Regions from separate parts of the Homo sapiens genome. Here regions 2, 3 and 4 are each linked to region 1. Evidence: promoter capture Hi-C in 16 types of primary human blood cells and fetal thymus (Javierre and others, 2016). All regions are on one chromosome and are shown on one strand. Each heading gives the region's core, a stretch centred on a gene start or on the middle of the fragment in contact. The rest is flanking DNA. Distances are from core to core; before and after follow the strand shown. Region 1 holds the start of CLCA1 (chloride channel accessory 1). Region 2 has its middle 17 kb from the start of LINC01140. Region 3 overlaps HS2ST1 (heparan sulfate 2-O-sulfotransferase 1). Region 4 overlaps LINC01140 (long intergenic non-protein coding RNA 1140).

Region 1 (5,440 bases), core at 384-2,883:
ATATGCCTGCCTTAGGCTCTGTTTTTTAGGGAACCCAGGCAAAGACACATACATTTGGGGTCTGAGATATCTTGGAATCTACATTTTTAAATTTTGTATGAATAATAAATGTATATGTATTTTGATATAAAAGCATATTTTGGATCATCTGGACAACCACATTATAATTGAGCATTTCCACTCTATTTCAGTGTTTCCCTTTTAACTGCTTAAGATTATGCTAGATATAAAGGGTATTCAATTAGGAAAAGAGGAAGTCAAATTGTCCCTGTTTGCAGATGACATGATTGTATATCTAGAAAACCCCATTGTCTCAGCCCAAAATCTCCTTAAGCTGATAAGCAACTTCAGCAAAGTCTCAGGATACAAAATCAATGTACAAAAATCACAAGCATTCTTATACACCAACAACAGACAAACAGAGAGCCAAATCATGAGTGAACTCCCATTCACAATTGCTTCAAAGAGAATAAAATACCTAGGAATCCAACTTACAAGGGACGTGAAGGACCTCTTCAAGGAGAACTACAAACCACTGCTCAAGGAAATAAAAGAGGATACAAACAAATGGAAGAACATTTCATGCTCATGGATAGGAAGAATCAATATCGTGAAAATGGCCATACTGCCCAAGGTAATTTACAGATTCAATGCCATCTCCATCAAGCTACCAATGCCTTTCTTCACAGAATTGGAAAAAACTACTTTAAAGTTCATATGGACAAGATGAAATTAATGCTTATCACCATCTGAAGACCAAATGAATTTATGAACGAAGAGATATTTCAAGTATTTCAATACAAGAAAATGGGGGGCCAATTTGAGGTTCCACCTGAGGTTTGGCAAATTGAAAGAATATACACAGCCACTGACAGCCCATAATTCATGTTCCTAGGGACATTTAGTTTCAGCAAAATAATTTAATGATGTTAATTGGAATTTTATTGACTGGTAGGAGCTATGCAATAGAGAAAGCAGAAATCTGATGAGGAACTTGGAGTATGCTTTGCAAAGTAAGATATACATTTTATCTTTACTCTCCATTATAAAATAGTCAATAATATCTACATCACTTGCTAATGCTTTTGGTACAAATGGATGTGGAATATAATTGAATATTTTCTTGTTTAAGGGGAGCATGAAGAGGTGTTGAGGTTATGTCAAGGTAAACAAAACCACCATTGTGGTAAAGACCACCATGAGGGATAACTGAATATATGGCTTACAAAATGTTTACTGAATAAGCAGAACAGTCTGGATTTTCCTGGGCAGGAGGGGGTTGGGGGCTTTGGGTGGGTTGGTGTCCATGGCTTGGTAAACATTTCCAAGAAGTAAACAAACCTATCAGCGGCCAAGCTGCTTGTCACCTGTGAGTGCTTCCAAGGAACCGGATGTGGGCTCCCCCACCCTTACCCCAGCATCTGGCACAGCTGAAGGCAGATGGAAATATTTACAAGTACGCAATTTGAGACTAAGATATTGTTATCATTCTCCTATTGAAGACAAGAGCAATAGTAAAACACATCAGGTCAGGGGGTTAAAGACCTGTGATAAACCACTTCCGATAAGTTGGAAACGTGTGTCTATATTTTCATATCTGTATATATATAATGGTAAAGAAAGACACCTTCGTAACCCGCATTTTCCAAAGAGAGAAATCACAGGGAGATGTACAGCAATGGGGCCATTTAAGAGTTCTGTGTTCATCTTGATTCTTCACCTTCTAGAAGGGGCCCTGAGTAATTCACTCATTCAGCTGAACAACAATGGCTATGAAGGCATTGTCGTTGCAATCGACCCCAATGTGCCAGAAGATGAAACACTCATTCAACAAATAAAGGTAAGTTCATAGTAATTATCCATACTTTTTTAAAAATAGCATAATGTTGTGATAGAGAGAACATGAGTGCCCTATTCCAGCTGCACGACACTGGCATGTATTTTTATGTCTAAGTCTCAGTTTCTTCATCTGTAAAATGGAAATAATAACAAGTTAACCATTAGGATTCTTGTGTCAGATAAGATAATGAATGCAATGCACATAACTCAGAGTGATATACTGTTGGCAACTGATAAATGATAAATTGATATGTACTGCTGTGGATTATGTCACTGAAAATTATTTAGTTCTATAGTAAGGCAGAGTCAGCTACATTTGACAGATATTGTGAGATGCACAGATCCTTTGCCTGATTTTACCCTTGGCACGAGTCAGACTCTCCTTTTATTCTCCTAATAGGAACCCCCTTCCCTGTGATCCTAAAAGGAGCCCCAGATGCAAATCTCTGATATAAGAACAACCCTGACCTTCTGATGGGAGAAAACCTTGCATTTTATCAGTCCCAATTCAAGGGATCCTTTCAGAGATTTCTTGCTACCTCTTATGTAGCAGAAGGGAAAGGAAGAAGACTTCCTGTCCTGGCAGGGGTATCTATACCATTGAAGAAGGTCTTGTACAACAACAAACAGCTAAAACTAAGAGGGAAATGCTTTATAAAAGACCGCCCTGGAATCTGGCTGTAACACATCCAGAGGCAGTGCTGTACTAGTAACAGTATTAGTCTGTAAAATGGGAATAATAATAATAAATATCTCCCTTATCAGATTTTGTGAGGATCAAAGTTTAAAATGCATGCATATAAAGGGAAGCTGGGTGGAGTATGTAAGAATACGGTGCAATACTTTGCATGTCTTCTGTTCATCTAAATTTATCTCAGAACTTTAAAAAATAACTTTAAAAATGCATGCATAGTGCCTGGTACATAGTAAGAGCTCAATAAATGGTGGATATAGTCATTGGCTCTCTCTAGATGGAAAATTAATAGAACAAGGGCCCAGAGGGATTTCCCCAGAGATCCACTGCTCTAAGCAGAGGCAAATATAGAAAGATAATGTTTGGAAAGAAAACCATCTCTACAGTGTGTGGTTAGAGAATTGCAGCAGTAGGGGATAGGGATAGGGAACAGAGTGGAGGGTGTCACTCACCATAAAGCTTACCTACTTAACCCAAAGAGGATCAGGCTGTCTGTGGTAAAAGGGAGATTCAGACCTCTTGAATCTCTCAATCATCTAAAATGTTGAGTGAGTTTTTGATTGTTTCTAAATTTGGAAGTGGCATCAGCAAACATGTGACCAGTGTGTTTCAGTCTCTGGCTAGACAGTGGGGTTCAGCAATATGCCAGAAGGAGAATGTAGATGCCGTATTCATCTTCAGTGACCGTGGTAATTTGTATCTACAGTATATAGTGACTAGAGCTTTCAAAGTGCTTCTACTTCATTGTCCTTGGAGGTTTTCCTCCCGAGATACGTACTTCTCGCTACAATTATTAAATTGTCTTTCCAGTATGGATCCTAAAGTTGGGGGTGAGATAAGTTGGCTTCCATCATTTCCTTCTCTGTAACAAGAACACTTTAGTGAATAGAATGCTCAAAGTCCCTAACTCCTTCCTATTTGATGTTCCAGATCTGCAGAGTTGAGGGACCTCGTTGAGGGCTTGGCCACCTTTCCCAACCATTCCTCCCTCTACTCCAACAACCTTCTTGCTGATGAGAGACTCTCCCCTGGTGCCCCTGTGGGGACAGAAGCCCCTAACTCAGCTTTTAAAATATTTGCTTCAGCAGGACAGTCCCCAGATTTCCCCACCTACAAGAGCAGTTAATCGCTCTGCACCACTTCCATCCACTGCATTCTTGCTAATATTAGCAGGGGGAGTACACGTCACAAGATGAGGAAGGGAGAGTCAGAGAGAAACTCTCTCTTCCCCCGTCAAATATACATACACACACACCACACGCACAAGCTCGTGTGCACACACACACGCCCATGCACACACGCAGACATACACGCACACACGCACGTCAGAAGGTACACAGTAGGGTTATTTTGGAGTCTCTGCAATGCTCAGCACCCCAGGCACTGTGCCTGTCTTGGCAGTTCTATACCACTTTGCCATTTACTAAACCCACTTTATTTATCCATTTGTTTGTTTATTCATTCAACAAATATTTACAGAGCATCTAAATTATGTCAGGTACTAGAAGTCCAGTGGTCAATATACTGTCCCTGTCCTGAAGGAATTTCTAGCCCATTCTATAAACTGTCACCCCCAACCTTCTCTCAGCCTAAGAGTCTAAATATGTATTAGGATATGAGGTCATTTTCTGAAAATCTGAAACAGATGCCAAAACAAAGATCCCTTATTATTGTTTCTATTACAATGTGGAAGACAAGAGCATTTCATGGTACTTATTCTTCCTGGGAGACATTGGAAATTCACATTTCACAAGTCAAATGGTAAAACAATACTCTAATATATGAAGTTTTATACCTACTTTTCAAGTTTTTGGTGATCTTGGCTCATTTTTTAATTTTATTTTTTAAAGTGACATAATATTAAACTCTCCTAGTGAGTGTTAAAAATCTGGGAGTTTTAGAAGGAGAAAATGTAAATCATTAAGAACACTTAAAAAAATAGAGGCAACCATTATTATCACTATTTGAAAGGGAGAAATTGAGGCTCAGAGAAGTAAAATAAGTTCTTTAAGTTTACCCCTTAGGAAGAGGCACAGCAGGACTTACCCGTGCACTAACACCCAAGTGCTGCTTCCCCATAAAATGGTGAAGCATTTCTGCTCCTAACACGACCCCCACTAGGCAATGGAGTCTAGTCACTCTGGTCTGTTCCCGCAAGGACTTTGCTCCTGCAATGACCCCTTTTTCTTTTACATTTTTGTTTTTTTTTTCATTAGCATAGAAATATTTTATAATATAATATTAAAACAAACAAAACTGTCTTGTCCTGAAGTCCACTTCCAGCTGCTGCCTATTTCTCCATTCCCCTTTAGTTCACAGAAAAACTTCTGAACCTGTTGTTGTCTGTATTTACTGTCTCCACTGCCTCACCTCCCACTTTCTTGAAACCACTCTTACGGAGCTGCTGTATTTATTCCACTACTAGGGCTCACCATGCTGCCAAGTCCAGTGATCAGTTCTTAGTCCTCATATGAAGTGATGGCTCAGCAGTGCTTGACACCGATGATCACGCCCTCCTCCCTATAGCTCTCTCATCCCACAGCTCCTCATTTCCTCTGCAGGCACTGACTGCCCTTCTGAGGCCCCTGTATTGGCTCCTCCTCTTTCTACCTCTGAATGCTGGGGTCCCCCACATTCCCTGGGCTCAGTCTTCAGCCTCTTTTTTCCTCTGTCTATGCTCACTTTCGAAGCAAATGGTTTTCAGTCCTAACAGATACACTGCCCCCTTTCTATAACAGTATCTTCTATCACTCTCCCTACTCTCTCGTCATAACATATCACAGGGAATCTGCAGACACATTTATAATTTAACGCTGCAGCTATTTCATTTTAGAGAAGTAAAATTAGGTGTAATTTGAAAATATATAATTATGCTATTTTCTTATATCTCTTAGTACCACACTGCAC
Region 2 (5,655 bases), core at 2,822-5,321, 650 kb after region 1:
AGCAGACAGATCTCAGGGCCAGAAACGCCAACATTTGGTGACAGGTGGGATATAATCAATAAATGGGGAATGAAGGCATTAACTTGGGTTTGTAACACAATGCATCTGTGCAAATTTTCAGCACCCCTTGCTTTTGCCTCAATTAGGCAATGATGATTACTTCCTGTGTCAAAGCTTATAAAACAGACTAGTGTTTTCCCAAAGAACATAGGATCACAAAGAAAGAATTCACTGTCTCCCTATCAGATGTTTGGCTTCCTTGCCTCTTTTGCTCTTCCAGATTTTGTGACCTGGGTTAGAGTTTAGAAAGAACCCCCTAGAAACTTTTCTGATGTTCTCTGGTTTGATGATGAAGGCGTCTAATAAAACACATCAACTCTAAGCCTCTACCTCTACTTCTCTAAACCTGAAGTTTAGAAATGAAAGTCATGCCTGGAAATGTTTCACATCATTAGCACTGACAGCGTTTACAGGGAAATAGAGAAAACGTATATGGATTAATTTTCTTTTAGATCAAGGGTGTGGGCAACTAGATTTCTAGAGCCTTCAGCCTGTCTATCGGTGATGCTGGAAAAGGAAGAGGATGAGCTGTAAGTGCAGTAACTGACCCCTGTCTAGGTTTTCTTGCTAAATACGCCCTCCATGAAACAGACAACATAAGTATTTTGAACTGTAAGAATGTTAAGAAATTTCTGTCCCTGAGCAGCAGATCGAAGAGTGATTATTCTGGGATTCTAGAATCAGTTCATTCTTTTCTTTCTCCCTCTCCCTCCGCTCTCCTTTCTTTCCAGTTTAAAATCACTCAGTCTCTTAGTAGAAATTTAACATCAAAGAACTGTCAAACTTGCTAATTTGTGATTTTTTAAGCATGTGCCGCCTTAAACTATCAAAGCTTTAACCTGTATCTAATTAAATGTTAAAATCTGGCAAAGAGTAGACCTACAGTCCCCAAGTGATCTGGTTTCTGAACTTTGTTTTGCTTTCACAAATGTGAGCCAATTTGCCCTAAATCTGGGTATTTCATGTAGCATCTTGAGAGATGTATTTAAAGTGCCTGTGGCAATAACATTTCATTTGTACCCATTTTGATGATTCTGGGTGCCCTCTTGATAAGGCAGCCAGGTTGTGCTGTAAAAAAAAACAATGTAGAGGTTTCAGTCTTAGGTGTTTGAAACTGTTGGATCTCTCAAAATTGATTAGCTGAAATATACCTTTTCTGCGTAACTGAATTCACCAGTAATTCCATTTGAAGCGGGCAGAGCCTTTCTGAAAATGGATGATCAGAAATGAGTGACATTTTATTCAACCAAGAGTTACCAGAGACATATTTTTTTTCCTTTAAAAGTAATTTAAAATTCGCCAGAGGATTACTAATTAGGTCTCTTGGCATAGCATGGTTATCTGATCAGACTGTCATGCCCATAAACAGTAAAAATGCAGCATGTTGATCCATTCATGTCTGTTTTTAAAGGAGGCTGTGGACTTTAAACTCCTCTCTCGCAGGCTTGCTCTTTGTTTCATGTGGGGGCTCTTTGAATAACACCTTAGATGAGAACAATGTTTAAGAAATAGGCCAGTTATATTTTGCTTTTCTATTTCTACCATGCTAATGGCTCTCTACTTGATCGTTTAATCACTGATCCAAATCCAGATGGAATTAGATGCTCCTTCCTGCTGTAGTCCTGCAGTCAGACAGTCTGTAATGTTTGATACGGATCTTCTGAGTGGACAAGATGAGATTAGATTAGTCTCTCTGGGAGCCAGCCCTATTCATTTTCTAAGAAAGTTATACTGGAGGCCTGAGGACTGCCAAGAGCAAAGTGGAAACAGAGCCCAGCCTTTTCCTCTTATCAAGATCCACAGTAGTTCCACATTAAGTAGTGGAGATTTGAATAATATTGGATCAGAATCCAGGAAGGAGGTCCTTGCCACCCACGATTGAAATGTGAACTTCATGTGTTACAACTTTATTACCTTTTCTTATTTTAATATATGACAAAGACTGAAATCTCTGGCATGGAGTCAGTGGCAAATTTTACTTTTGTGGGTTTTTTTTTCTACATTTAGTATTTATTGAGCCCCCACTGTTTGCCAGGCACTGCACTACAGGCTCTCTCTGCACCATGAGCTTAACCTTTCAGTAATCCTCATATTCAATCCTTTACAACTGTTTAGAACTTTATAATTTACAAGGCGCTTTCATTTCACATTTATCCTCTCATTAGATTCTCACGTGGAAGGGTAGATACCATTATCCTCGTTTTACAGTTGAAACTGACACAGCTAGGAGGTGGAAGATGGGCTCCCCAGCCCTCAAGATTCCTAGTCCATCAAACCCTGATGCCCTTCCTGATATGTGCCTGTCTCTCAAAGTCAGCAAGGGCTGTAATACAGATTAAACAATTGCAGTGGTTCTTAGGCTATAATCCCATCTCTGGACCAATAGTGTCAGCATCCCCTAGGAACTTGTTGAAAGGCAGATTCTTAGGCCCTAGCCTTCTGAGTAGGACCTAGCACTATGTTTATTAATAAGCTTTCAGGTGGTTCTGACCAAGACTAAAGTTAAGAACCACTGGTCTAGAGCACCAGTTTACAGATGAGACGACTGAAGCTCTAGTTGAGCTTAACCTAGCTGGTTAAGTAACCTAAGGCTTCTCATAACAAAAGTTGTGAACTAGGATGTGAACCCAGGTCAGTCTGGCTCCAACACCATCTGTTTTCTACATTGGACTGCGTTATAAACTATAGTGTATCTTATATATTTCATTATTGGTAAATTCCTCTCTGAAATATCGTTTTGGGGGACCACAGAGCAGGTCAATAAGAAGAAAAAAGTCCCAATGTGCTCTTCTGGAGTAAGGCAAACAATGCCACCCCTTCTAATGAGTTTCTGTTTTCTGTGTGAGGTGAATGTGGGGGCTAAACCTCAGCGTGGCTACTAGTGTGCTCAGGAAATTCAGGGACAGAGCCGAGAATCCAAAATGGCTACCCAAACTAAGTGCATTTCATCTGGACTTTCTGGTCCCAGTGTTCTTTGGTCATACTTAATAGTTTACTGTGATGGATTTAATGGCAAGAGGGCTCCTTGCCCTGGCTTGGCAATATCTGTGGAGCCATGGGTTGACGTAGTGTGGGAATACTTGTGGCTACTTGGAAATCCCTGTTGCTGTCATCATTGGCAGTGCTTCCCAGCCGAGATTCTTAGTCTGTGGTCACGTGTGAACTCTTCCAGTCATGCAGCTTAAACAGAAGTGCCCACTTGTTTCTCACAAATTATATCTGCATTTTTTTTTCTCCTAGAAGCAAGAGCCCAGACCAAGGGTTAGTCGATAGCTCAAGGGACTTCCAGGGAAATCAGAACTGATCTTCGTGCATAGCAATGCTTATAGGCTTCCTTCCACACACACTGAGAGATCAGCAGGGCAGTGGACTGAGCCTTCGGGTGCAATGCATTTCCTCAACACATTCTTTTTGAAAGAGGAAGATTGTTGCCCATGTATAGTGTACTTCTTATGTGCCGGCACTGTACCAAGTGCTATGCATTTGTTAACACTCATTTCATCCCCCCTTTTTTTTTAAGAGAAAGAGGATCTCACTCTGTCACCCATGCTGGAGTGCAGTGGCACAACCATGGCTCACTGCAGCCTCGAACTCATGGGCTCAAGACTCAGCCTCCCAAAGTGCTAAGATTACACGCTTGAGCCCCCATGGCTGGCCTCATTTCATCCTCTTAATCCTCTGAGGAAGGTACTACTAGCAGCCCCATTTTACAGATGAGAATGAATTAGAAGTTCAGATGCTTTCTTACAGTCACACAGCTAGAAAGTGGTGGAGCAGGATTCAAATCCAAGTCTAGCTACAAATTTTCTGCTCTTAACCATCCTGTTGCATAGGCTCTGACAGCTGTGACAGGCAGTAGTGGGGGGTTGTTTTGAAAGTCTTGCCATAGGCTGGATGCAGTGGCTCACACCCGTAATCCCAGCACTTTGGGAGGCCCAGGTGGGGGGATCACCTGAGATCAGGAGTTCGAGACCAGTCTGGCCAACATGGTGAAACCTGAGGTCAGGAGTTCGAGACCAGCCTGGCCAACATGGTGAAACCCTGTCTCTACTAAAAATACAAAAATTAGCCAGGTGTGGTGGTGTGCGCCTGTAATCCCAGCTACTCAGGAGGCTGAGGCAGGATAATTGCTTGAACCCAGGAGATGGAGGCTGTTGTGAGCCGAGATCACGCCACTGCACTCCAACATGGGTGACAGAGTGAGACTCCGTCTAAAAAAAAAGTCTTGCCATGTCTTTTCTGCCTCTTTTACACAGCCCCACAGGGCTTGGCAACAGGAAAAGCATGACCTAGGGCTATGGCAGTCACCCATGTGGGCTATAGCTATGGCTGCAACTCAGTGCGGCCTCCAACGACGAGGACTGGGAGTTTGGAGGGGCAAATTTAGGCCATTTTGTTTTCTTGAAATGCTTCCTCCTAGTCCCTAAATTCAGTCCCAGGTCAATAAATGGCAGTTAGTTATTCTCGGTGGTCGTGGTGATGTCTAAAGACTGACAGGATTCCCAGATTCAATGTTGGGAAAATCACCTTGAGTCCACTTTTCAATGTGCTGGGGAGTGAGTACAGGCCAAGTTCAAGTCATCAGTTCCCAGCGGTTCAGCCAGCGTGTCTTGTGAATTCTCCCAGGGCTCTCTGGTTTTAGCAGGGTCTCCATGTGCAAACCTTGCCTTTGCACAAGAGCCACCATGGCAGGAGGTTGACCAAGCTGTTCTGGGGAGGTGAAAGGTGCTGAGAAGTTGATGCTTCCTCCTAAGTGCTGTATGGAGCAGGCTTGGCCCAGATCCAACATGGGCACCCAGCAAAGACTGGTTGTCTCCTGGTGTCCCTGCAGCCCTCCCAGCCATCCCCTCACTTCCCACTGTGGCATGCTGCTTACAGCTCTCTCCCTCCACATGCCTGAGGGCCTTTCTGCAAAGAGGGGTTCAGAGATATCCATGACCAGCCAGTCTAACCTTTTCAGGGTGGGAGGGCAGAGCAGAAGTTTTACAGTGGATACGAGGCCTGAAGCCAAAGGAGTAAAACCTCTGCCTCATGGGAGTCCAGGCATGCTTAGGCAGGAGGGGTGGCAGGTGGGTAGGACAGCCTCTTGACTCCAGAAATCTCACTTCATAAGTGGCACCTGCTCTGAGCTCTCCAGATATCCCTGAATTTGGTTTTACCCTCTGTTCTTGCCTCTTCCTGTCTCCCTCCTCCTGCTCAGTCCCTCACCACAACATTCCTTTTGTGTTTAGGGAGATTTCCTAGCACCTCCCTGGCTAACAGATCAGATCCATCTGAGTCACACTGAGCCTCCCATTTAGTAACTTAGGACTCTGGAGTCCGGGTGGCCTAGGCGTCATGCCAAACTCACTACTGCTAATAGTAATGCTATTATAATGGCTTTTATACTTAAATCTCCTTTCTTCCAGGAGCCCCAAGGTCTTTAACAAATGCAAGAATTACACTACTCTCCAAAAAATAGAAACTGAAGGAAAATACATTCCTTATTCCAAGTCTACTCCTTCATGGCCTTACATAGTTGCTTTGAAGGATGGATCTTTAAAGATTCATAAGCTTTGGTGGGTGAGTGGGGTGGACAAAGGAGATAGGCTTTCT
Region 3 (5,587 bases), core at 1,839-4,338, 570 kb after region 1:
GCTGATTTTTGTATTTTTAGTAGAGACAGGGTTTTCACTATGTTGGCCAGACTGGTCTCAAACTCCTGACCTCAGGTGATCCACCAGCCTCGGCCTCCCAGAGTGCTGGGATTACAGGCGTGAGCCACCGCCCCCGGCCTTAAAGTGGTAAATTTTTTAGTTTGCATAATACTTTGACTTTTGTTGACTTAAAATTCCTTATAGTGAATAACAGTATACCACCACAGTGAGCAATGATGAGCTTAATGAGGGACAGGAATGGAAAAATTACAGTTTTACTGGTTTAGAAGTTCAGACACAGTAGCTAACATATTGTCTAATGAGTAATATTTTGCAAATATTGAGGATTATTAATTTTTAAATATAAAGATGTAGTAATAGTTCTTTGGTAAGTCTAAAAAATAAGTAGACCATCTACCCTTTTATTTGTTTCAAAGTGTCAAAACAAAAATAGAATCAATGGTGAGAATGGCTTTGATGAAATACCAGTGAGGAAGGTCACAGTAAATTATTATTTCATGACAAACAAAAATGTAAATTCTTTTACATTGCAAATATAATATTACAAGAGAATAGCAAATTTACAGTATACACTTGGAGAATCATTCTAAAGCAGTTGAAGTCTCCCCAACACCACACTTCAATTTTTTGTGATCTGTGGTCTCCAGAGTAACTATTATAAGTGGTTTTCCCAGATTCTGGAGGGGAGAAAATAAATTAACAATGGATTGATAACTTTATTGTTCAAGCTATAGTAATTCTTTTCACTGTGAGATTTTACATAATTCACTAAAATTACCCTTGTTTTGTAAATATGGAACCATTCAACGAACTACTTTTGAAAATGCAAATATTGTACTCTAGCTAGTACAATGAGCTCTAGGAAATCAGAATCACATTTTGAAAGAATCTTGAGGTTTCAAAGCCTTTCAAATTCTCTCAGTTGAGAAACTGTTACAGTGTAAAGTATATGTACGAAGCTTTCCCTTTTAAAAGACAATAAAAAATAGTTTTGAATTGAAGAGTAATAGGATTAGTAATCTTTATAAAATTAAAGAGCCAGATATGCCCATTGTTTTCAGCTAAATAATGGTTCCTTAAATATGTCCATATCTTAATCCCCAGAACCTGTGATTATGTCACTTTATATGGCAAAAAGGACTTTGTAGGTGTGATTAAATTAAGGATCTTGAGATGGGGCGATTATCCTGGATTATGTAGGTAGTCTCAATGTAATTTCAAGTATCCTTATAAGAGGGAGGCAAGAGAATCAGAGTCCTAAAGAAATGTAATGACAGAAGCAGGAGTCTTAGTCAGTGAGAGAGAGATTTTAAGATGCTGTGCAGCTGGAGGATGGAGGCTCAGTCCATGAGCCAAGGAATGAATGCAGGTGGCTCCCAGGAGCTAGAAAAGGATTTTAGGGAATGTATTTTCTTCTAGATCCTCCAGAAGGAACATAACCTAGCTGACACCTTGATTTTAGGACTTCTGACCTTTAGAACTCTTAAGATAATAAATTTGTTTTCCTATCAGCTAGTCATTTTGTCGTCATTTGTTACAGCAGCAGTAGGAACTAATTAACCTATGAACAATTTTTAACCTATCGGTATTGTAAGTAGTACTTCTAATTATTCTTTTAAATATATCTTTCTTTGAAAAACTTATTCTTCTTTAGGATTCAGACTTTTCATGTACTCAGGGAGAATAAATGAGTCCTGTTCTAAGTTACTTTTTTCTCTTGGAGATATCACATAGTTGAGTTCATGGCCTAGAAGATTTTCTGATGTTTGTACATGCCCATGGGAGAATGTGTTATCATAATAATTTTTAGTATGCAGCCTCTTGACTTGATTTTTCACTTATAGTGTAGACCATAATATTTGTCAATTTCTTATGCATCTACTGTGTATCCAGCATTGATATAGACATCTTCTGTACATAATACATTCCACAATAACCTTGCAAGTTTGGTATTATTTTTATTTTATAAGAAAGTATCCTAAGTATGACCCATTAGTTTGAAATAAATTAGTATTTGTTGTGTAAATCTTTACCTCCCAGTATTGTTGTTTAAGAATTAAAACAGGTTGTTCAGAGAAGACGAAAGACTTTTTTTTTTTTTTAATTATTACTATACTCTAAGTTCTGGGATACATGTGCAAAACCTGCAGGTTTGTTACGTTAAGTATACACGTGCCATGGTGGTTTGCTGCATCCATCAACCCATCATCTACAATAGGTATTTCTCCTAATGCTATCCCTTTTCTAGTCTTCCACCCCCTGACAGGCCCCGATGTGTGATGTTCCCCTCCCTGTGTCCATGTGTTCTCATTGTTCAACTCCCACTTATGAGTGAAAACATTGGTTTTCTGTTCTTGTTAGTTTGCTGAGAATGGTTTCCAGCTTCATCCATGTCCCTGCAAAAGACATGAATTCATCCTGTTTTATGGCCACATCATGGTGTATATGTGCCACAGTTTCTTTATCCAGTCTATCATTGATGGGCATTTGGGTTGGTTCCAAGTCTTTGCTATTGTGAGCAGTGCTGCAGTAAACATACATGTGCATGTGTCTTTATAGCACATGATTTATAATCCGTTGGGTATATACCCAGTAATGGGATTGCTGGGTCAAATGGTATTTCTGGGTCTAGATCCTTGAGGAATTGCCACACTGGGAGACCAAAAGACTTTAAAGCACTGTTAATTTAATTGGGAAGATAAGAAATACTATTCATATTATAGTTGAGATTTGAGATGGGCTTTGAAGGATGAATAGGTTTTTTGACAGCAATTGGAGGGAGGATATTCCAAGTGAAATGAATACTGAGCAAAGACTCAAAGATGAGAAAACATGGACTAGGTTATAGGAATGTAACAGTTTGGCTAGTATATTTGTGTAGGGAAAAAATAAAAGATATGCTGGAATGAAGTGAAAAGGTGTTTAGATATTTCCAATTTTGTAGAATTTTATTTTTAATTCAGTTGGTGTACTAATTGTAAAATTACCTTGACCAAACTGATATCAGGATGACAATGTCAACATTGCACACTCTTTGAAGACAGTTCTCATTTGCTGAATGAATGAATGAATGCTGACCCACACATTTTCAAGGAAAACCTTGGTTATGTTCAATACATGTATTTTAAAACTGAGGGAAGTATGTCCTTTCTGAGAGATTGTCATCAACATGGATAACTGAAAGGTTTTGATGCTTAAAAGGATAAGCTCCAAATATCTGGAACATTCACTTGCATATATCACTACATTTCCCAATAGTATTTGTTAAATTAAACCTTAGGTAATAAAGTGCTAGGGTTCTTTTTCCTGTTCTAACGAAGTGAATATCATAAATCAATTCATTTGTTTTGCTGATTTATCACATTCATGGGTGCTGACTTTTTTTTTTAATCTGCTCCCAACTTTTGCTTTATCGTCATTGAAATATGCTTTTCTTCTGGTGGTGAAAGTAGTATGTGAATGTTTAATATGTAATTCTATAATACTGTGAATTCTGCATATCTTGTTCTGTTTTGCTAAAAAAGTGAAAAAATATTTCCCTGTGATGTGAAACAGCCATTGAAGTTTGGTGAGTTTATGAGTTGGATAACTATTATAATTACTCAGTGTATCTTGCTGTTGAAAAGCATAAGTTAAAATGTTTTCATTTATTCTACTTGGTTGTAGTTATAAAATTATATGGCCCAATAAATCTGTACAATAAATGGCCTTTTAATATATATATTTTAATTTTTAGAAATTAAAAGATTACAGAAAAGTCCAAAGGTTATGTCAGAATTATCAAACATTAATATTTTTGCATATTTAGCTATCCTTCTAAAATTACATCAATAATATGTCTTTAAAAATAGAATATTTCAAATAAAGTTGAATTTTTTTTTTTTTTACCACCATCTCCAATTCTGATCCTCTGTCTTGTATAAAGTAACCTATTATAAATTGGGTATGTATGTTCCTAGTACTTTTTTGGTATTTTTACTCATTTGTGTAACCATACATTTTTAAATTTTTTATTTGAAGAGATGGTTATCATAGTGAATGTATTCTACAACTTGCATTTTTTCACTCAATAATTCTGATATCTAGCCATCTTGATACTTCCAGACGTAGTTCATTCTTTTAACTGCTATGTAGCATATATCTATAATATATCTCTAACAGATTTTAGATTGTCTGCAGTTATGAGCAGTTCATCTGTGAACATTTTTCTTCATATTTTCTTATACATTCAAGCAAATGTTTTTCTAGTAGGTGCCTAGAAATAAAATTGCATGGCATATGACAGTGAAAATCTTTATATTGTTAATGATTAATGTACTTTAACCAATAGTTTTTTAGTCATAAATGACTGTAGACTCTTACTTAATATTATAGTTTTTAAAACTTGTCAAATTTTATTTAGTTAGGTCACAACCATCTGTTTTATCAAGGTGGATTTGGTCTGTTCTATGACAATATGCTGTGTTCTTAACAATCAGCAGTTATCTCATAATCTTATAACTACTGAGGAAAGCAGTGAAATAAATGGATGGATGCACAGATGGGCAAAGTCTATCACTACCACTGAAATAATTATTTTAAGTACATGCCATATTTAACTGTGTCAATACATTTTATTTTGAGTTTGGGGATGCCATCCTAGAAACTGAATATACATGTAAATAATTAAACTGTTGTATATTATTCCAACAAGTACATTTAGGGTACTGTTGTAAAACATTTTCAAAATTAAATGTCAAATGGAAATTCAAATTCAATAAAATTAAGGATTATAAAACTAAAGCTAAGCATGTTGTATGTAACAGAAGTTATTCTGGAAAGTCCTGCAAAAATTAGAATTTGCATTCATATTGTGAATTACTGTACTGCTTTAAAAAGGAACAAGGAAGGTATTTATGTTTTGATGTAGAAAGATCTTGAAGATCTATTTAAGTTACATAAAGGCAAGACAAAGCAAAGTACATATTGTCCTAATATTTGTGTAAAAATGAAGTATTTGTTTTAACTTACATATACGTGAAGTGATCTCTGAACCAAAAACTAATAATAGTGATTATGTGTTGTGAAGGTTGGGAATTGGGCAGATAGATACAGAACAAGAGAGAAACTAAAAAAAAAATGGATTCTGACAGAGAAACTTTTTACATACCTTTTTAAAAATACCTTTTCACATTTGAAGCTTTGAGTATATTGCCGTTTTTTTAAAAAAGTAATCTATAATTTTAATATTTCTATTGTATACAATTGAAAAGTATTTTTAAATTTCCCATGTATATGGAAAAAATAAATTAGTAAAAACAATCATGAGCCAAATGACAACTTTGGCTGAACCCTGTACTGATATGGAAGGTAATAATGATACGTGGGTTAGTAATAAAGCACCTCTCCTTTGGTAATTGTAAGGGTTCTAGTTTTCAAAATGGCAGTTCATGACTTTCCACAGCCTCTTCCTGTGGTGAATTTCTGGCCAGTTGGATGACAGAAATACAGGGCTTGCTAAAAGTTAAAGTATCTTGGCAGTTCTGGAAAGAGACCATCTAAACCACCAGCCAATGCTACCTCAGCA
Region 4 (5,827 bases), core at 3,256-5,755, 670 kb after region 1:
GTGTCCTCCTGGCAAGTGAAAAGGCTCAGTAAAGGGTAACTGTTATCATGGTCCAGTCTAAACTTCCGTGCTAGCCCTTCACCAAATTGATCTTACAGAAATCAAAAGGTTCCTGCTTTTCCCACCTTGTTTGGAATTAGAAAAAACTTCCCCTGCACTATTAGTGTTTTATAGGCCTCTTCTCTCCAAGACAGAAAGGAGGAGAGGGTAACGGGGCTTATTTTCTTCTCCCAGGACTCTTGAAGAAGGATTCAGGATGTGGCTGTGCCGCTGGGGATAAACGGTGTAACACTGGGGCAGGTCAGTTTCCTTGTTGGTACGATGGGACTCTTACACAGGCCCCTTCCTTTCCAGCACCAGATACTGCTACACCATCTCATCGGCATGGACCTATATGTGGCAGCAAGTCCATCTCATCGCTTTTGGTGAAAGTCAGTCCAGTTTGTAAAGATTCTCATTGTGAGTATGGCTAAACCATCCCTTTGACTAAAAACCAAACCAGATACTCCTTTACCTATCAATACCTCCTGCTGCTAAAAAGCAGCAGCTAAAAAGCAGCAGGAGGTATTGATAAGGGAAGTCCTATCTAAATTCCTGGTTTAGAGAATGACTATCCTCATTTTATGAGTTAAACATTACCCCCAATTAACACCTCTGAAAAACCCTCCCAACATGTTTATCTCATTAATATCACGGGGTTGGCAGGTCACTGTAGACGAGGAACTGGGACACCAAAAGGAGAAACTCTGGCCACGCTTGCACCCTGTTCCCAATCCTGGTCCAGTGTCACCCACAGATGGTAAGGAGCTCTAGAGACCTCACCAGCCCCTGGGATTGGTCACCTCACTCTTCTATGGACAGAGATTCCTGCTGGGATCCTTTGAGGGCAAGCAGACCCTTCTTCCAGCTCGGACTGTGAACTCCACTGCAGCCGTAAGGACTGTCTGTGACAGTGAGCCCGAGATGACTGGGCTCTGTGCTCCCTCCCGGCCCTCCAATCCTTGGCCTGCCACAGAGAACTGAGCTCTTTTATTAGCACCATGAATGTGACTGATACAGCTAGCCATTCCCTTGTGCGAATGACTCAGTTTATTAATGCTCTGCTAAAGATGGCTTCTTTGCTTGCCAGCAGCCTTAAACAGTATTTCATTAAAACTGGCTTAATTATTTTGAGAAGACGGCCCAATTAAAAGCTATACACTCCCTCTATGTGAGTGTTTATACATAGAGCTGTATATATAATACATATTTGTAAGTGTGTATATATATATGTGTGTATGTATGTGTCTATAAATATATAGGCTTAGCAATTTCATTACATGGGATAAATTGTTGGAAAAAATACCCAGGAGCTGGTCCCCTTTCTGTTGCTAGATTCAGAGTAGAGGCCACCCCTCCACTCTGGGAGAGGCTGGTGTTGGTGATCTCTCAATGACTCTGCAATGGAAGTCCCAACTGCACAGAGCCCTGCCCCAGTTTCAGGAGCCAGCAGCCTCGGAGAGGCGGATCCTGACCTCTGCTCTGCTCTTGGGATAGCCTTTCCCTTCCCAGCAGGGTTGAGATACTTGGGCCGGGAAATGTTGTGGCAAAGTGTTTGCCAAAGCTCAGGAGAGACACAGACTTGGGGCTTTTGTTTCTTGAGCTGGCTGTCTAGCTTTCCTAATGAGCAAATATGTTCTCTTTAAGGAAACAAACAAACAAAGCAAAAACACCAATTCATCTGGATTTTATTCATTTGTTTTAAATACAAACAAACAAAAGGAGAGTGGTTATTTCTGCACCAACTATTTCAAATGCAAGTTACTCCATCGCTCGGGGTGGTTGGATGGTGCTTGTCACCATAGGACCCACAGGGCTAGTTCCAACTGTTATTCGGTAAGGCTTTTTTCTTTCCAAAATTCCCAGTGTTCCTTTAAGGCCCATTTAGCTGCGGGTTTTGTTTATTCTCCCGGCAATCAGCATTTAAAATAAGACAAACAAGCATTTTTTCCTGGGCTGTGAATCCCCCCGGCCAGCCTCCACCTGCACACCTGAAGCCAGCATGTCCAATCAAATTTCTCTGTAACCCATATCCCCTTTAGAGACTTGCCCCCGTCGTATACCAGGCTGGAAATAGAGAACTTAAGCAGGGCAAATGTAATTTTAAGAATTGCTAATGATGCTAGAAATCTGCAATGCAATTAGCGTCATTGGATTTGGCGCTCCTCCGAAGGCACAAAACTCCTTGTCATAGCGCAGTGGCAGCAGCGGCAAGTGCCTCCGCATGTGCCGGGCTGTCCGGGTATGCTGGCAGCCGCTTTGCACTGAGATGTGAGCAGTTGGTTAGGCTTCCTCTCTTTCTTTCTCACAGATACTGACTTCTTTGTCTCTTTTCTGGGTTGCAGAGGGATGGGTATTTTCCATTGATTATTACTTTAGCATTTGACCCTCCAGTGGAGTCACCCTGTTTTTTTTTTAGAAAACTGAGACTCTCACTTTGTGAATTCACTGTGCTCTCTGGGATTTCAGTGCTGTAGTTCAACCACCAATCCCCCTGTCCTGAACTCCAGTACTTCTGATGCTATTAATTGGTTCCTCAACAATTGTGGCCTTTTCCATCATTGCCCACCATAGTATATACTTTTTCTTTCTCTCTCTTTTTTCTAATTTCCTTGTCTTCTTCACTCTCCATGGAGCCAGAGGTAGTATGAAGAGTTAAAAATAGGAATATAAAGAAAGCCAGAGGGACAGAGGGAGTGAGAAAGAAAAATTTTAAAAAGGGAGGAAATGAATTATTGGATTAAAAATAAACTTTTACTTTTTTGCAGAAAAATTATTTTTGCTCTCTGGGAAAATAACATGGGCCAGGCATAAAAAGCATGTCAGCTGGCTAAAAGATTGCAAAATCCAGAAGATGATCTCGATGTGTCTGTTCAATTTAGCAAGGGTATCTACTAGGGGATCCTCTTTTAAATATGGAGGCCCAAATCAGAAGCTTGTAGAGGGGAGCTATTCTTCCAAGATTCCAGATGTGTCTGTGAGACAACACGTTATGGGGCAAATTGATTTCACCCTTGGGAAACCAGGGAGATTTTCAAAGTTATGTCTGCAAAGCCAGCTAATGCAATTCCCCATTAGTGCATTAAAGTGCGCCCTTATTAATTCAAACATAAAGGCAACAAAATAAGCTTTTAAATTTAAAATATAATACATATATAATGAGCATGTGTGAAAGCCTTATTCAAATGAAAATACAGGAGTGTTTGAACTACTGAGGTATCTTTTGTATTGAATTATGAGCATATGTAATAGATTTAATTATTAATTTCCCCATTGTTCTATGCACACAGACAGGGTTCAAGGCACAGTCATTCTCTGGCTTTCATAGATCTAATTTGTATAATTATTGCCTGAATAAAAAATTGCTCCAATTCCTAGCTCTCTTTCTTTCTTTCCCCCTTCTAAATACTATTTCAATGCTGCATTCCAAAAGGGGAACACCTGCCACTTCTTCAAAGTCAGCTGATCATTTGGAATGATGGACGGCGCTGCTGCCGATGACGTCCCCTTTCAAGTCTCTTTGTCTAAGTGAATTATCGTGCATCCTTTTAATTTTATTGAACAAATTACATTTGTCAAGGTCTATCTTTGTAAATAAATGATAACTAGAGACACATGGATGCGTATTTCTGCTGTTCAAGGGCTCTTGTTCCATTTCTGGAAGCCAGATGAACATGGAACAAAGGAGAAACTTTCCTCTAAAAGCAATTATCTTTCTGCATTCCCATCAGTATAATTATATTGCAGGGAATTTTAAGAAGCTGTAGAAGTAGAATTGAATGCTTAAAACTGTGTTTGCTGAATTGCTATGCAAAAGTTGAACAGGCTGTATTGCATCACACAAAATAGTCTAACTCTCTCCTGGCCACATTTCTGTAAGTTTAGAATGTGCCTGAAGGGTGGAGATGGTGTGGGGGAGGCGGTGGGGATGGGGATGAGGTAGATCGCATTTAGGGTTTCCTGTGTTTCTTGAATGGAATATTTAATGACATTTCTGAAACCTGAGGGCTGTTAGCAAGGTGACTGGGAATGTGTCTAATAAAGCCACCCATTCCAGTCTAGTTGGAAAGCTTCTGATTTGCAGATTGCTCTCTGTCTGAAACAGTCCTGCTAGTTTACTAACTAATCCATGAATGGTGGTGGGATGAAGAGGGGACCGTTCATGAAATGATGGCAGCAGCAATTACACTGCTCCCAAAACAAGCCAGCAGCTGGCTTACAGAGATACTGAATGTGGTTTGTGTGGCTACTGTGTCAATACTGCGCATCAACCAGGATCATTCCTTTCTCATTGGCTCCCCCACAATTTAGTGAAGTAAACTGTTGCTGTGAGGTAAATTGTATTGTCTGATCACTGACAGCTCAATAACCTCATTCCTGCCCCTTCCCAATTTTTAACAAACTCCCTGATGAACATTCAGGAGGAAAATAAAGCACCAGTGAAAAGTGGCAACAGAGAATGCCATAATCATGGGTTAGTTTAGTATGGCTGGTAGGTTTTGAGTTACTGGACAATTGATGGGATAATATTATAGTCTAGAGATCTTGAAGAAAGGAAACCTACAAGAAGGATGACCTTGGATCCTCTCAGAGAAGTGAAGGGTGAATCAGGAGCCTGGCGATAACTCCCAGTTCACAGAGACTGCATGGAACAGCGGGATGAGCATGGGCTTGGGTTGGGATGGAGACAACCCCTGGCCCCTGCATTCAGTGTCTGCAGTGGTAAGATGAGGGATCTGGACCAGATGATTGAATAGCCTATCTTTAGATTCCGGGTCTAAGGTCATGAAACCCATTGTATGGGGCATTGATCACCATAGGAAAGTGGGGGAGGCAAGGTCCATGTACTAGGATTGCATTGTTAAAGCTTTATGAATGTGTTGAAGGGGAAAAATGATTTTTTCTCATAAGAAAAATGAGTCCAGTGCTTTTGATCTCTAATTTCTGTGGCTGAGGTTTGGTGATAAGCAAGAATGGAAACCCATGGGATCATTGCAGGTGACATGATCAGAAAGTGGTAGGCCCATAAAGTAGGTTTAAAATGGTGCCTTGGCCATCTTGGTGATTGAAAAGCCTCCTCTCTCAGGAGAAAGTGGCCAGTGGGACTGATTTGTTTGATTCAGATCATCTCACTAAGCAGGCAATGAAGGGAATTGCAGAGAACTAGCATGTCCAGCTTAGAGTTGAATTCAGTGCTCCCTGAAAGTGTCAGACCCTCTGCTGGAGCTAGGAATAGGTCATATGGTCCCTGTCATCAGGATCATGTTGCATACATATGACCGTGAAGCCAGGTAGGAACATCTGTGATTCTAGGACACAGTGATCGGGGCCATGACACAGTTCTCCTGGGAGGGAGCCTGGTGGGGGCTGAGGTAGTCAGGGAAGGCCATGGAAGGAAGTGAGGCTTGAGTAGACACAGTCAGATAAAGGTAGGGGTAGACAATGGTAACAGAGGGAAGAATACGTGACGAGCAGTGACGTAAAGCAGCAAGACATGTTCAAAAAGCTGCTAATGCTTCAAGATGGCCAAGGCGGAGGGTGAGTGTGGGTGAGCAGAAGGGGATGGGGCTGAGGAAATCAGCAAGTGCCAGACATGGGGGCCTAGCCAGGAGGCTCGAACTTTCTGCTCTGAGTTAGAGGAAAGGGGAAAGCACTGAAGGAGTGTCACAGGTAAGCAGTGTGTCAGGGTCAGAATTTAGAAGGGTCATGTTTACAGCTAGGACTGGATCCTGGGGTCCCTGTGCAAAATGAAAATGTGGGGCCATTTATTCAAAAACCAGGAAAAAAG

What was found. Contacts are between HindIII fragments. The CHiCAGO score rates a contact against its expected background, and 5 or more counts as called.
Region 2: a fragment that was not itself captured here is called in contact with the fragment with the promoter of CLCA1 in region 1 in 1 of 17 cell types (neutrophils); the score reaches 5.9 in neutrophils.
Region 3: a contact is called between a fragment that was not itself captured here and the fragment with the promoter of CLCA1 in region 1, in 1 of 17 cell types (neutrophils). The highest score is 7.4, in neutrophils.
Region 4: a fragment that was not itself captured here is called in contact with the fragment with the promoter of CLCA1 in region 1 in 1 of 17 cell types (neutrophils); the score reaches 5.1 in neutrophils.

Annotation. Positions count from the first base shown.
Region 1 is chr1:86,467,294-86,472,733 of GRCh38, forward strand. CLCA1 (chloride channel accessory 1) reads left to right here and starts at 1,634. Exons shown (of 14, transcript NM_001285.4): 1 at 1,634-1,840. The coding sequence starts at 1,679. The HindIII fragment of the contact is 8,280 bases long and covers 1-2,990 here.
Region 2 is chr1:87,110,382-87,116,036 of GRCh38, forward strand. No RefSeq gene overlaps it. Among named protein-coding and RNA genes, the nearest start is that of LINC01140, 17 kb to the right of the region's middle. The HindIII fragment of the contact is 3,080 bases long and covers 2,532-5,611 here.
Region 3 is chr1:87,033,705-87,039,291 of GRCh38, forward strand. The region is part of intron 1 of HS2ST1 (heparan sulfate 2-O-sulfotransferase 1); the gene reads left to right. Among named protein-coding and RNA genes, the nearest start is that of LINC01140, 93 kb to the right of the region's middle. The HindIII fragment of the contact is 4,220 bases long and covers 979-5,198 here.
Region 4 is chr1:87,133,260-87,139,086 of GRCh38, forward strand. It overlaps LINC01140 (long intergenic non-protein coding RNA 1140), which reads left to right. Exons shown (of 3, transcript NR_026989.1): 2 at 355-459. Among named protein-coding and RNA genes, the nearest start is that of LINC01140, 6.4 kb to the left of the region's middle. The HindIII fragment of the contact is 797 bases long and covers 4,108-4,904 here.